3 separate regions of the Homo sapiens genome follow, and all the other regions are linked to region 1. The links are contacts of gene promoters, found by promoter capture Hi-C in human tissues and cell types (Jung and others, 2019). All regions are on one chromosome and are shown on one strand. Each heading gives the region's core, a stretch centred on a gene start or on the middle of the fragment in contact. The rest is flanking DNA. Distances are from core to core; before and after follow the strand shown. Region 1 holds the start of UBE2J1 (ubiquitin conjugating enzyme E2 J1). Region 2 overlaps ORC3 (origin recognition complex subunit 3). Region 3 overlaps SLC35A1 (solute carrier family 35 member A1).

The links. The method cuts DNA at HindIII sites, captures the fragments that hold promoters and counts their contacts. A contact is called where the count stands out against the background at its distance.
Region 2: a fragment that was not itself captured here is called in contact with the fragment with the promoter of UBE2J1 in region 1 in 1 of the 25 tissues and cell types used here (bladder).
Region 3: a fragment that was not itself captured here is called in contact with the fragment with the promoter of UBE2J1 in region 1 in 1 of the 25 tissues and cell types used here (heart right ventricle).

The regions. Positions count from the first base shown.
Region 1 is chr6:89,351,105-89,354,200 of GRCh38, reverse strand. It overlaps UBE2J1 (ubiquitin conjugating enzyme E2 J1), which reads left to right and starts at 1,479. Exons shown (of 8, transcript NM_016021.3): 1 at 1,479-1,662. The coding sequence starts at 1,632. RefSeq lists silencers at 1,018-1,117, 1,128-1,837, 1,868-1,927 and an enhancer at 1,224-2,173. The HindIII fragment of the contact is 5,428 bases long and covers 1-3,096 here.
Region 2 is chr6:87,598,836-87,601,955 of GRCh38, reverse strand. It overlaps ORC3 (origin recognition complex subunit 3), which reads right to left. Exons shown (of 20, transcript NM_012381.4): 3 at 75-172. Among named protein-coding and RNA genes, the nearest start is that of ORC3, 10 kb to the right of the region's middle. The HindIII fragment of the contact is 6,974 bases long and covers 1-3,120 here.
Region 3 is chr6:87,479,565-87,482,440 of GRCh38, reverse strand. All of the region lies in intron 2 of SLC35A1 (solute carrier family 35 member A1), which reads right to left. Among named protein-coding and RNA genes, the nearest start is that of SLC35A1, 8.0 kb to the right of the region's middle. The HindIII fragment of the contact is 4,586 bases long and covers 1-2,876 here.

The DNA of each region.
Region 1 (3,096 bases), core at 230-2,729:
TTTGTAGAGCTGTGGCAGGAGAGGGTGTCAAGTGTCAGTTAATCTGAAGATTCAACACAATGAATGAATGAAGCAGCATTGGAGTTTGGTTTTGTTTGCATATCTCAGTCAGTCAGATTATCAGTTTACTATACAGAAAACAACATCAGGGAATGATTTAAAATATACCATCTAATTTTAGATATCCTTCACTTTTTTACTCCCAATTTCATCAAGAAACTCACAGATTTAGATTAACTTTAACAATAGAAAACAAATCAAATTTAAGAGTTTATGTCTTTATATAACAGAATAAAACTTGCCCAACCTGATTAACCCTTTCTATCCTCCCCACCTTCCCAATCCCTCCCTCCTTTCCTTTAGTAAGGTCCCTACTCCTTAAGTCTTTTGAACTCAGTCCTCTCTCGATCCCACACATTGGACAATGAAGCAGTAAGTGTGTCCTTTGAAGTTTAACCTTTCATATTTGTATGCTTTCCCTCACATTAAATGTAATTCCTTTTTTTGACAGCTTTTACATCTAAACAAACCAAAAAAAACAAAACTCCTGCAATGCCTAAAACATGTCGTGCACCTAACACACTACCCGAGAAAAAAATTGTTATGAATATCCAACTCTGGCCAGAGCCGTGGCTCACGCCTGTAACCCCAGCACTTTGGAAGGCCGAGGCGGGCGGATCGCTTGAGTCCAGGAGTTCGAGACGAGCCTGGCCAACACGGTGAAACCGTGTCTCTAACAAAAATACAAAAAATTAACCGGGCATGGTGGCACACACCTGTGGTCCCAGCCACGCTGGAGGCTGAGGTGGGAGGATCGCTTGGGCCCGGGAGGTAGAGGCTGCAGTGAGCCAAGATCGCGCCACTGCATCCCAGCCTGGGCGACAGAGCGGTGACACCGTCACACACACACACAAAATAAAAAATAAAAAAAATCCTATTCCATTTCCTTGTCACTGGCTTTCCCCCTCCTCACTTAACCCCCGCCCCTCGCAACAGCAACTGAATCTAAAAACAAAGCCTTTCCCAGACCCTGCGGGACCGCGCGCGGGCAGCCGGCTGCGGACAGCTTTGCAGCCGGAGCCCGGCGCCCCCTCCGAGCTCTCGAGGGCCCGGGGGTCCCGGACCTCGCCTACAGCGGGCAGGGCCGGGACGAGAGGACGAGGACGCCGCTCGCTCCTGCACCTCCCCAAGCCGGCTTCGCCGGGCGGGCGGCGGCTGGGTAGTGACCGACCGCCACGAAGCTACTGCCACGTCAGGGCAACTTCACAAATCCCGGACGAGGGCGGGTGACGCAAGCCGGGCGGCCGCGGCAGGGCTGGGCCTGCGACTACCCGAGGAGGCTGACCTCCAGCCCGGGCGCCCGGTTCAGCGCCGCCCCGGCCGGCGCCGGTGCCTGCCAGGCACTCAGGGAGGCGGGGGCGCAGTGGAGGAGGCGGCGCCATCGCGAAGCGAGCGCCTCGCCCGCACTCAGCCTTGCCACCCCGCCCGCAGTCCAGGCTGGACTGGGCGGCATTTGCCGAGGCTCCTCGGCCAGGCCCCGTCCGCCCGAGCCGCGCTGAGACCCGGGCAGCGGCCGCGTGGAGAGGAGGTGGCAGCGGCCCGGGAGGCCGGAGCCAAGCCAGCGACCCACCATGGAGACCCGCTACAACCTGAAGAGTCCGGGTGAGCAGGGCTGGGGCCCCTGGGCGAGGAGGGCGGAGTGACCCTGGACCCCGGGGTGGTCGCCGCCTCGGTCCCCTCGCGTCTGGCGCCACTCGCGGCTCAGCTCCTGGTTTCGCGCTCTACGCGAGACCGCCGCCTGCCCGGGAAGTACAGGCCGCAGGGCGAGGTGGCCGGGTGGACGTCCGCTGCCAATCCCCCGGCCGGCCAGCGCGCCCCGCAGCACCCAGCCTCTCCCTTTTCTCATCTTCGCCTGGTCCCGTAGAGCTGGGTCAGAAACTCATCCCTGAGAACAGGTGTAAAGGTGATGTCGGTGGGCGATAGTCATCAACCCCCTCGCTGTACCTGGTCGCTATTCCCTCCCTGTCGCTGCCACCGGACTTCTATTTACTTCTATTTACTGCCGGCTGATTTACTCACATTTGAGGAGTTGGTCGTTTAAATATCCTATTTGCAGCACTTGGGCGAATACAATTACAGACATAAAGGAAATGTTCTGTAACTAAACCAGTTAACTATAGAGCTAAAGCAAAACAAAACAACAACAAAAAAACACCTCGTTGAGCCCTGTTCTTGAGAGCTAACCTTGATTTTTGCCAGACTGGCTAATATGAAATGTATCTGTATTCAGTCGTAGCGATTCCTTTCCTGCATTTAATGATCCTGCTTTATATTTACACAAGCAGTCCCAGCAATCCTAGCCTCTAATTACTTTCTGGTGCATTATAAAGATAAGCAACTAGCTTTCTCAGCTTAATAAAACAGGCTTGAAATGAATCATTGGATCCTCTAAATGGTATTTTTTCTATCTGTACCTTGATACATTTTGTCAGGGGGAAGAAACTCCACAGTTAACTCTGCATGATAAACTCTAGGATATTAGTGATGATTTCACCAACTTTTGCTGTTGCTTAAAATTTCCTTCCAAAAAAAGCTGTTTCTCAGTAGGAATTAGCAAGACTAGCATCCTTGTGGAAAGAGTTGACACTGTGAATCTTTGGGTTTTTTGTAAGGTTTCAGAATATGCAAAAACCCCAGAAAAGCCTGAGGATATTGATTGGAGGGAGCTTTGTTAGCCTGAGTGCTGTCAGGCTAAGAAATGTCCTTAGGTGACCAAGTGTGTAGAACTGGTCATAATATTTTAGGAGCCACTGACTCCTTAAAAAAATCTGATGAAGACCTGGCACGGTGGCACACGCTTGTAATCCCAGCACTTTGGGAGGCTTGAGCCCAGGAGGTGGAGAGCAGCCTGGCCAACATGGTGAAACCCCGTCTCTACTAAAAACACAAAAATCAGCCGGGCATGGTGGTGGCGCACTCCTGTAGTTCCAGCCACTCGGGAGGCTGAGGCAGGAGGATGGCTTGACCCGGGGAGGAGGTTGCAGTGAGCCGAGATCGCGCCACTGCACTCCAGTGTGGGCGACAGAGCGAGACTCC
Region 2 (3,120 bases), core at 446-2,945, 1.8 Mb after region 1:
GGTGGAAAGGAAGATGAGATGCAACAAAAATGAGACTTAGGGTGTTACAGAAAATTATTAAAAAAAGTATTCACCTCATTTTCAGATTTCATCTGCTGCCATATCAACTGATAAGTTTCGAATCGAAGCTTACTGTCCTCAGGCTCATTTTTCCCTTTGTTAAAATAGTCCTCTAAAAACAGAAAGAAATAAGTCAGTTTCTTTTTTCATATAATAGTATAAGTTATAGATCTTACGTGCAAAGTTACACAGTAAGTGACAGAAGTGAAATTTTTTTTTTTTTTGATATGGAGTCTCACTCTGTCACCCAGGCTGGAGTGCAGTGGCATGATGTTGGCTCAGTGCGATCTCCGCCTCCCAGGTTCAAGTGATTCTCTCCTGCCTCAGCCTCCCGAGTGGCTGTGACTACAGGCACGTGCCACCACGCCCGCTCAATTTTGTATTTTTAGTAGAGATGGGGTTTCACCATGTTGGCCAGGCTGGTCTCAAACTCCTGACCTCAAGTGATCTGCCCACCTTGGCCTCCCAAAGTACTGGGATTACAAGTGTGAGCCACCTTGCCTGGCCTTAATTTTTTTTACATTCATCAAAAACATATATTTGGGGACAGGTAACATTCAATATCCTCTGTATTTCATTTTTTATAATCTTTTATTTTTACCATATTTATGGCATATTTAAGATTAAAAATGTCAATCTTTCTACTGTATTTCTATCATTTGCTTTTTAATTTCTAACAGTTTTTATTAAGTGGCTTTTTTGAGTTATATACATTTAATAATGTTTTCATTATTTGCTGTTATTCTACAACCTTGTATACTTTGTTTCATACATTTGCTTTGAACTCTCCTCTATTGAATGACTTACTACTACTATTCTTACATTTTTCCACTGACATAGTTTAGTCCAGTCTTTCATTTATTCTGTCTGTATATTTTTGTATCCTTTTTGAATGCTTTCTCCAAATGGTTAGCTATTTGTGAAAATACCATTTATTGCACTGGCTTTCAAACTTTTCAAACTATAATCCACATTAAGGAATACACTTTATATCATAACCTAACACATATACACATGAACAAAAACTAAAGTCACAAAAAACAACACTCACCCTTATTATGTAATAGCAAATGTTTTCTTTCCTGTTTTATACTCATAGTCCACTAAATTGATTTCATAACTCACACATAAATTATGACATTTGGTTTGAAAAACCCTCCTTTATTGTACAATCCATCCTTCTCCCGCTGATTTGACATGCCCTTATAGTCTAAATACTTATATATACTTTGAACTATGTTTGAACTTTTTATTTTGTTCTACTGAATCCAACCCTATTCTCCTACCAGTCTTGAACTGTTTTAATTATTATGGCTTTGTATGTTGTACATTTTATCAAATACATTTAGGTCTTCCTCCCACTGCCCCCAAACATTGTTATTCTCTTTCAAAAAAATTTAAGCCACTTCTTCAAATTAATTTTACAGTAATCCTGTCACTTCTCAAAACTAGTTGTACTGGTATTTGACTAGATAAAATCAAATCCATAGACTGATTTGGGGAAAAATCCCATCTTTAATATGTTAAAAAATCCCCAACCCCAATATCACAGGTCTCTTTTTTTAATCAAATATTTTAGATTCCTTATAGTTTTCTACTTTCCCTCATATTTCTTGTTGTTTACTGCTACGTATTTTATTGTAACAACTGGAGTGTTCACGTTAAATTTCTGCTGCTAATAATCTACCACCAAGTTTTAATGTTAACTGATAGTTTGGAATATAAATTCACTTCATGTTAAGGAACTTCTCTCCTAATCATAGTTAACTCAGAGTTTTTAGCAACTATTGATTTTTAATTTTATCAAAAGCCTTGGAATACATTGAAGTCATCGTACGGTAAAGTGGCAGACAAGGTTATAGAATTAAAATGCCAACAAAAAAAGAAAGCAAGGAGACACTATTATTACTATTACTATTATTTGAGACAGGGTCTCGCTCTGTTGCCCAGGCTGGAGTGAAGTGGTGAGATCTCAGCTTACTGCAACCTCCGCCTCCCAGGTCCAAGTGATTCTCCTGCCTCAGCCTCCCGAGTAGCTGGGACTACAGGCGCCCGCGACCACATCTGGCTAATTATATTTTTAGCAGAGACGGGGTTTCACCACATTGGCCAGGCTGGTCTTGAACACCTGACCTCAAGTGATCTGCCCACCTTGGCCTCCCAAAGTGCTGGTATTACAGGCGTACATCACCCCACCTAGCCAGAGGACACTATTATTAAGAGACAAAGCAGGCCAGCGTGGTGGCACATGCCTGTAATCCCAGCGCTTTGGGAGGCCAAGGTGGGCGGTTCATTAGCTCAGGACTTGGAGACCACCCTGGCCAACATGGTGAAACCCCATCTCTGCTAAAAATACAAAAATTAGCCGGGCGTGGTGGCATACACCTGTAGTCCCAGGTACTCAGGAGGCTGAGGCAGGAGAATCACCTGAACCTGGGAGGCAGAGGTTGCAGTGAGCTGAAATTGTGCCACTACACTCCAGCCTGGGCGACAGAGCAAAACCTTGCCTCAAAATAAATAAATAAATAAATAAATAAATAATAAAAAAAAGAGACAAAGCAGAACAACAAGGTAGCTTTAAAAAGAACAAAAATAGTCACTTTACATTAATAGGTAAAATCATAGCATAACATGAAAGTGGCAAATCAAGACACAATTTTTATGTGCAGAATAATGCCGCATCAAAATACACATGAAAAACCTCTTAGAAACTGGGAAACACAGCAGTAGGATACTTTAAACTGTTACCATGACTTCTCTCAGTCTGTTACAGATCAGGTAGGTAAATTTAAAAACTACACTGAAGAATATAAGCTCTCACTGTTGCCAGGTTTCTACCTGCCTCGGCTCCTATTCACAGTGCTATACTTCAGTGTGGGTATCTCCTACAGTGCCAGTGCTGCTGCCAGTCTCTCTCTCTCCAGTTCCTATCCAGTTGTTTTGCTGGATATGCAGTCATCCACAGAATACTGAGGAGAGGGAGAGTTACCAGTCTTAATTACGTGCCCAAGTGTCTTCAGTCAGGGGACAGATGGTGGGCAAAATGCAGAGCATCTTCCT
Region 3 (2,876 bases), core at 101-2,600, 1.9 Mb after region 1:
GTCTTATTAATAGCAAAGGATAATTGAAATACCAAACTTACAAGGTTTTCCACAAAGGTAAAGTTTGCCAAAAGTTAGCAGTGTAATATGTATTATCCTAACTTCTAATCTTGTGGCCTTAGGCAGTCTAGTCCACAGACCTGAAGGAAGTTTGCTTTGGAAAAGAATGGTTATCATCTTGGGGGAAAAAAAAGGAGGGGGGGGAGAATTTATATAAAAAGAATGTTATATGGTAAATTATTATCCTAAAATAAATTAACTGGTTATTTAAAGAAAGCGATGTTTACAGGAAGTCAGAAAATTGAGGCCTGTCGAAGATTGCGAAAGTCATGAAAAATGCTATAAAAGGGAACTTATGCAAGAAATGTTGTATAATTTAAAAGTAATTAGGCCTCCTGAATGTAAAACTATTGAAGAAACAGTTTATGTGCAAGGTGTATAATGAAAGTAAAATATACTTTTGGTAAAAGGATAATAAGGAGGCATAGAATGTGGATTTTTACCTACATTAAAAGGTTAAAAAAAATTTTGTTTTGAGCGTTTAAGCAAGTTTTAAAATGTTAATTGTAAAGGAAATTCTGTGTGTAACCATATTGGCTAAAGTTAAAGGGGTATCATCCAGTTTTTCTGTGAACTGGACATTAAAATAAAAGCACAATGGGTTTTTCTTAAAACACTAAAAAACACTAAACTGCTCTTTAACAAATTTTATAAAAGGTTAAAAAGAGTCTATGGAAATCTTACCTTATGGTCAGACATTAAAATCGGATAAATATGTCTACAGGGTTTTATTAAAATTGAGTTTAATATTAATAATACACTAATATAAAGGTGAAATTTAGCTTATCTGGTATAATCATACAGGAAGCACTGTCAAATATAAAATGGTGTTTGGCTTTCTTTGGTCTAAAAACTAATAAAAATAGGTTTCTCAGGAAGTTTCTAAAGGAAGTTTCTCAGGAAGAAGGCACTAAGGACTATAAAGTCCACTGCTGGTGTCCCCCAATTTTTTTTTTTTTTTTTGAGTCAGAGTTTCGCTCTTGTTGCCCAGGCTAGAGTGCAATGGCGCGATCTCGGCTCACCACAACCTCCGCCTCCCAGGTTCAAGCGATTCTCCTGCCTCAGCCTCCCAAGTAGCTGGGATTACAGGCATGTGCCACCAAGCCTGGCTAATTTTGTATTTTTTAGTAGAGACAAGGTTTCTCCATGTTGGCCAGGCTGGTCTTGAAACTCCTGACCTCAGGTGATCCACCCGCCTCGGCCTCCCAAAGTGCTGGGATTACAGGCATGAGCCACCGCGCCCAGCCTGGTGTCCCCAAATTTAAAACAAAAGATCAGTTTCTCATAAATTATATACTTGGTTTATCTTCCACTTTCCTTTCCCTCAAAACTACAAGTCTTTTAGCACAGGTACCACCCCTAGAATTTCTGGTAAACGGGCACTAGCCTGGGGATCACACCCTCATCAAAGGGTAGAAAGAAGGAAAACTCAAGCCAGCCTGAGAAGGACCCTACCTTGTGCTGCTAACCACCAAGACTATGGTTTGTACCACAGAAGGGGGATGGACACATCACACCCGAGTCAAGCAAGCACCATTACCATCAGAATCATGGACCATTGTTCCTGGATCAAGCCTTACCAAATTAAAGCTAAGAAAAGCTTAGTCTATCTATCTTTTCCTTCCTTTCCTAACACAGTGCCTATATCCATTACTGTTCCTACCACTAGCAACTCTAACCCCACTTTAGAGCGTTTCTATGGTTTAGGAGCAGAAGTCACTGGAAAGGACCCTATAGGCTTCTTTAAGATGCGCTTTGTTCTCCCTGCTCTACCTCCTACAACTGCCCCTTTCACAAACCTACGAAATAAAACTATGCCTCGCCTCATGCCAAATGACAAAAGCAAGGTCTCAGTAGTAGAAATAGGAGACCTAAGGCAAACCATAGCTATTGACAGGGTATAAAGATGTAAATGCCTGGTTAAAATGTATTAAATATTCCATTCACACTTTAAACAAAAGTAACTGTTACACTTGTGTGCACGGTAGGCTAGAGGCCCAGGTTGTTACCTTTCCACTGGGATGGTCCTCAAATCAAGTGGACATGGAGTGCATGGTAGCTTTTTCAAGATTCTACTGCCTGGAATAACAAATTGTGCTAAGCTCTTTCTCTGCTATTTCCTGAAGTCCAACACCCTGCAGGTCAGCCCCCAAGGGCCATCCAGCCTCCATCTTCCAAAACCAATTTTACCTCGTGTCTCTAACGACACGGGGAAAAATTTGGCATTTCTTGGAGACTTAACAGGATGCAGTGAAGTTAGGCACTTCCAAGAGGTGACCCGTCAATCTGCCCTTATTCATCCCTGAGCGGATGTATGGTGGTATTATGGAGGACCTTTACTGGACACTCTGCCAAATAATTAGAGCAGTAGTTATGCTCTAGTTCAATTGGCTATCCCTTTTACTCTGGCATTTCATCAACCAGAGGAAGGAAAAATAAGACATCATAAAGTGAGAGAAGCTCCTTATAGGTCATTCAACTCTCATGTCTATTTAGATGCAATTGGAGTCCCACGGGGAATACCAGATCAATTTAAAGCCCGAAATCAAATAGCTGCAGGATTTGAGTCAATATTTTGGTGGGTCACAATTAATAAAAACATAGATTGGATAAACTACATCTATTATAACCAACAGCAATTTATGAACTACACTAGAGATGCTGTTAAAGGAATAGCTGAGCAATTAGGGACTAACTGCCAGATGGCTTGGGAAAATAGGATAGCCTTAGACATGATATTAGCAGAAAGAGGAGGAGTTTGCATCATGATTAAAACTGAATGTTGTGCCTTCATCCCAAACAACACTGCCCCTAAT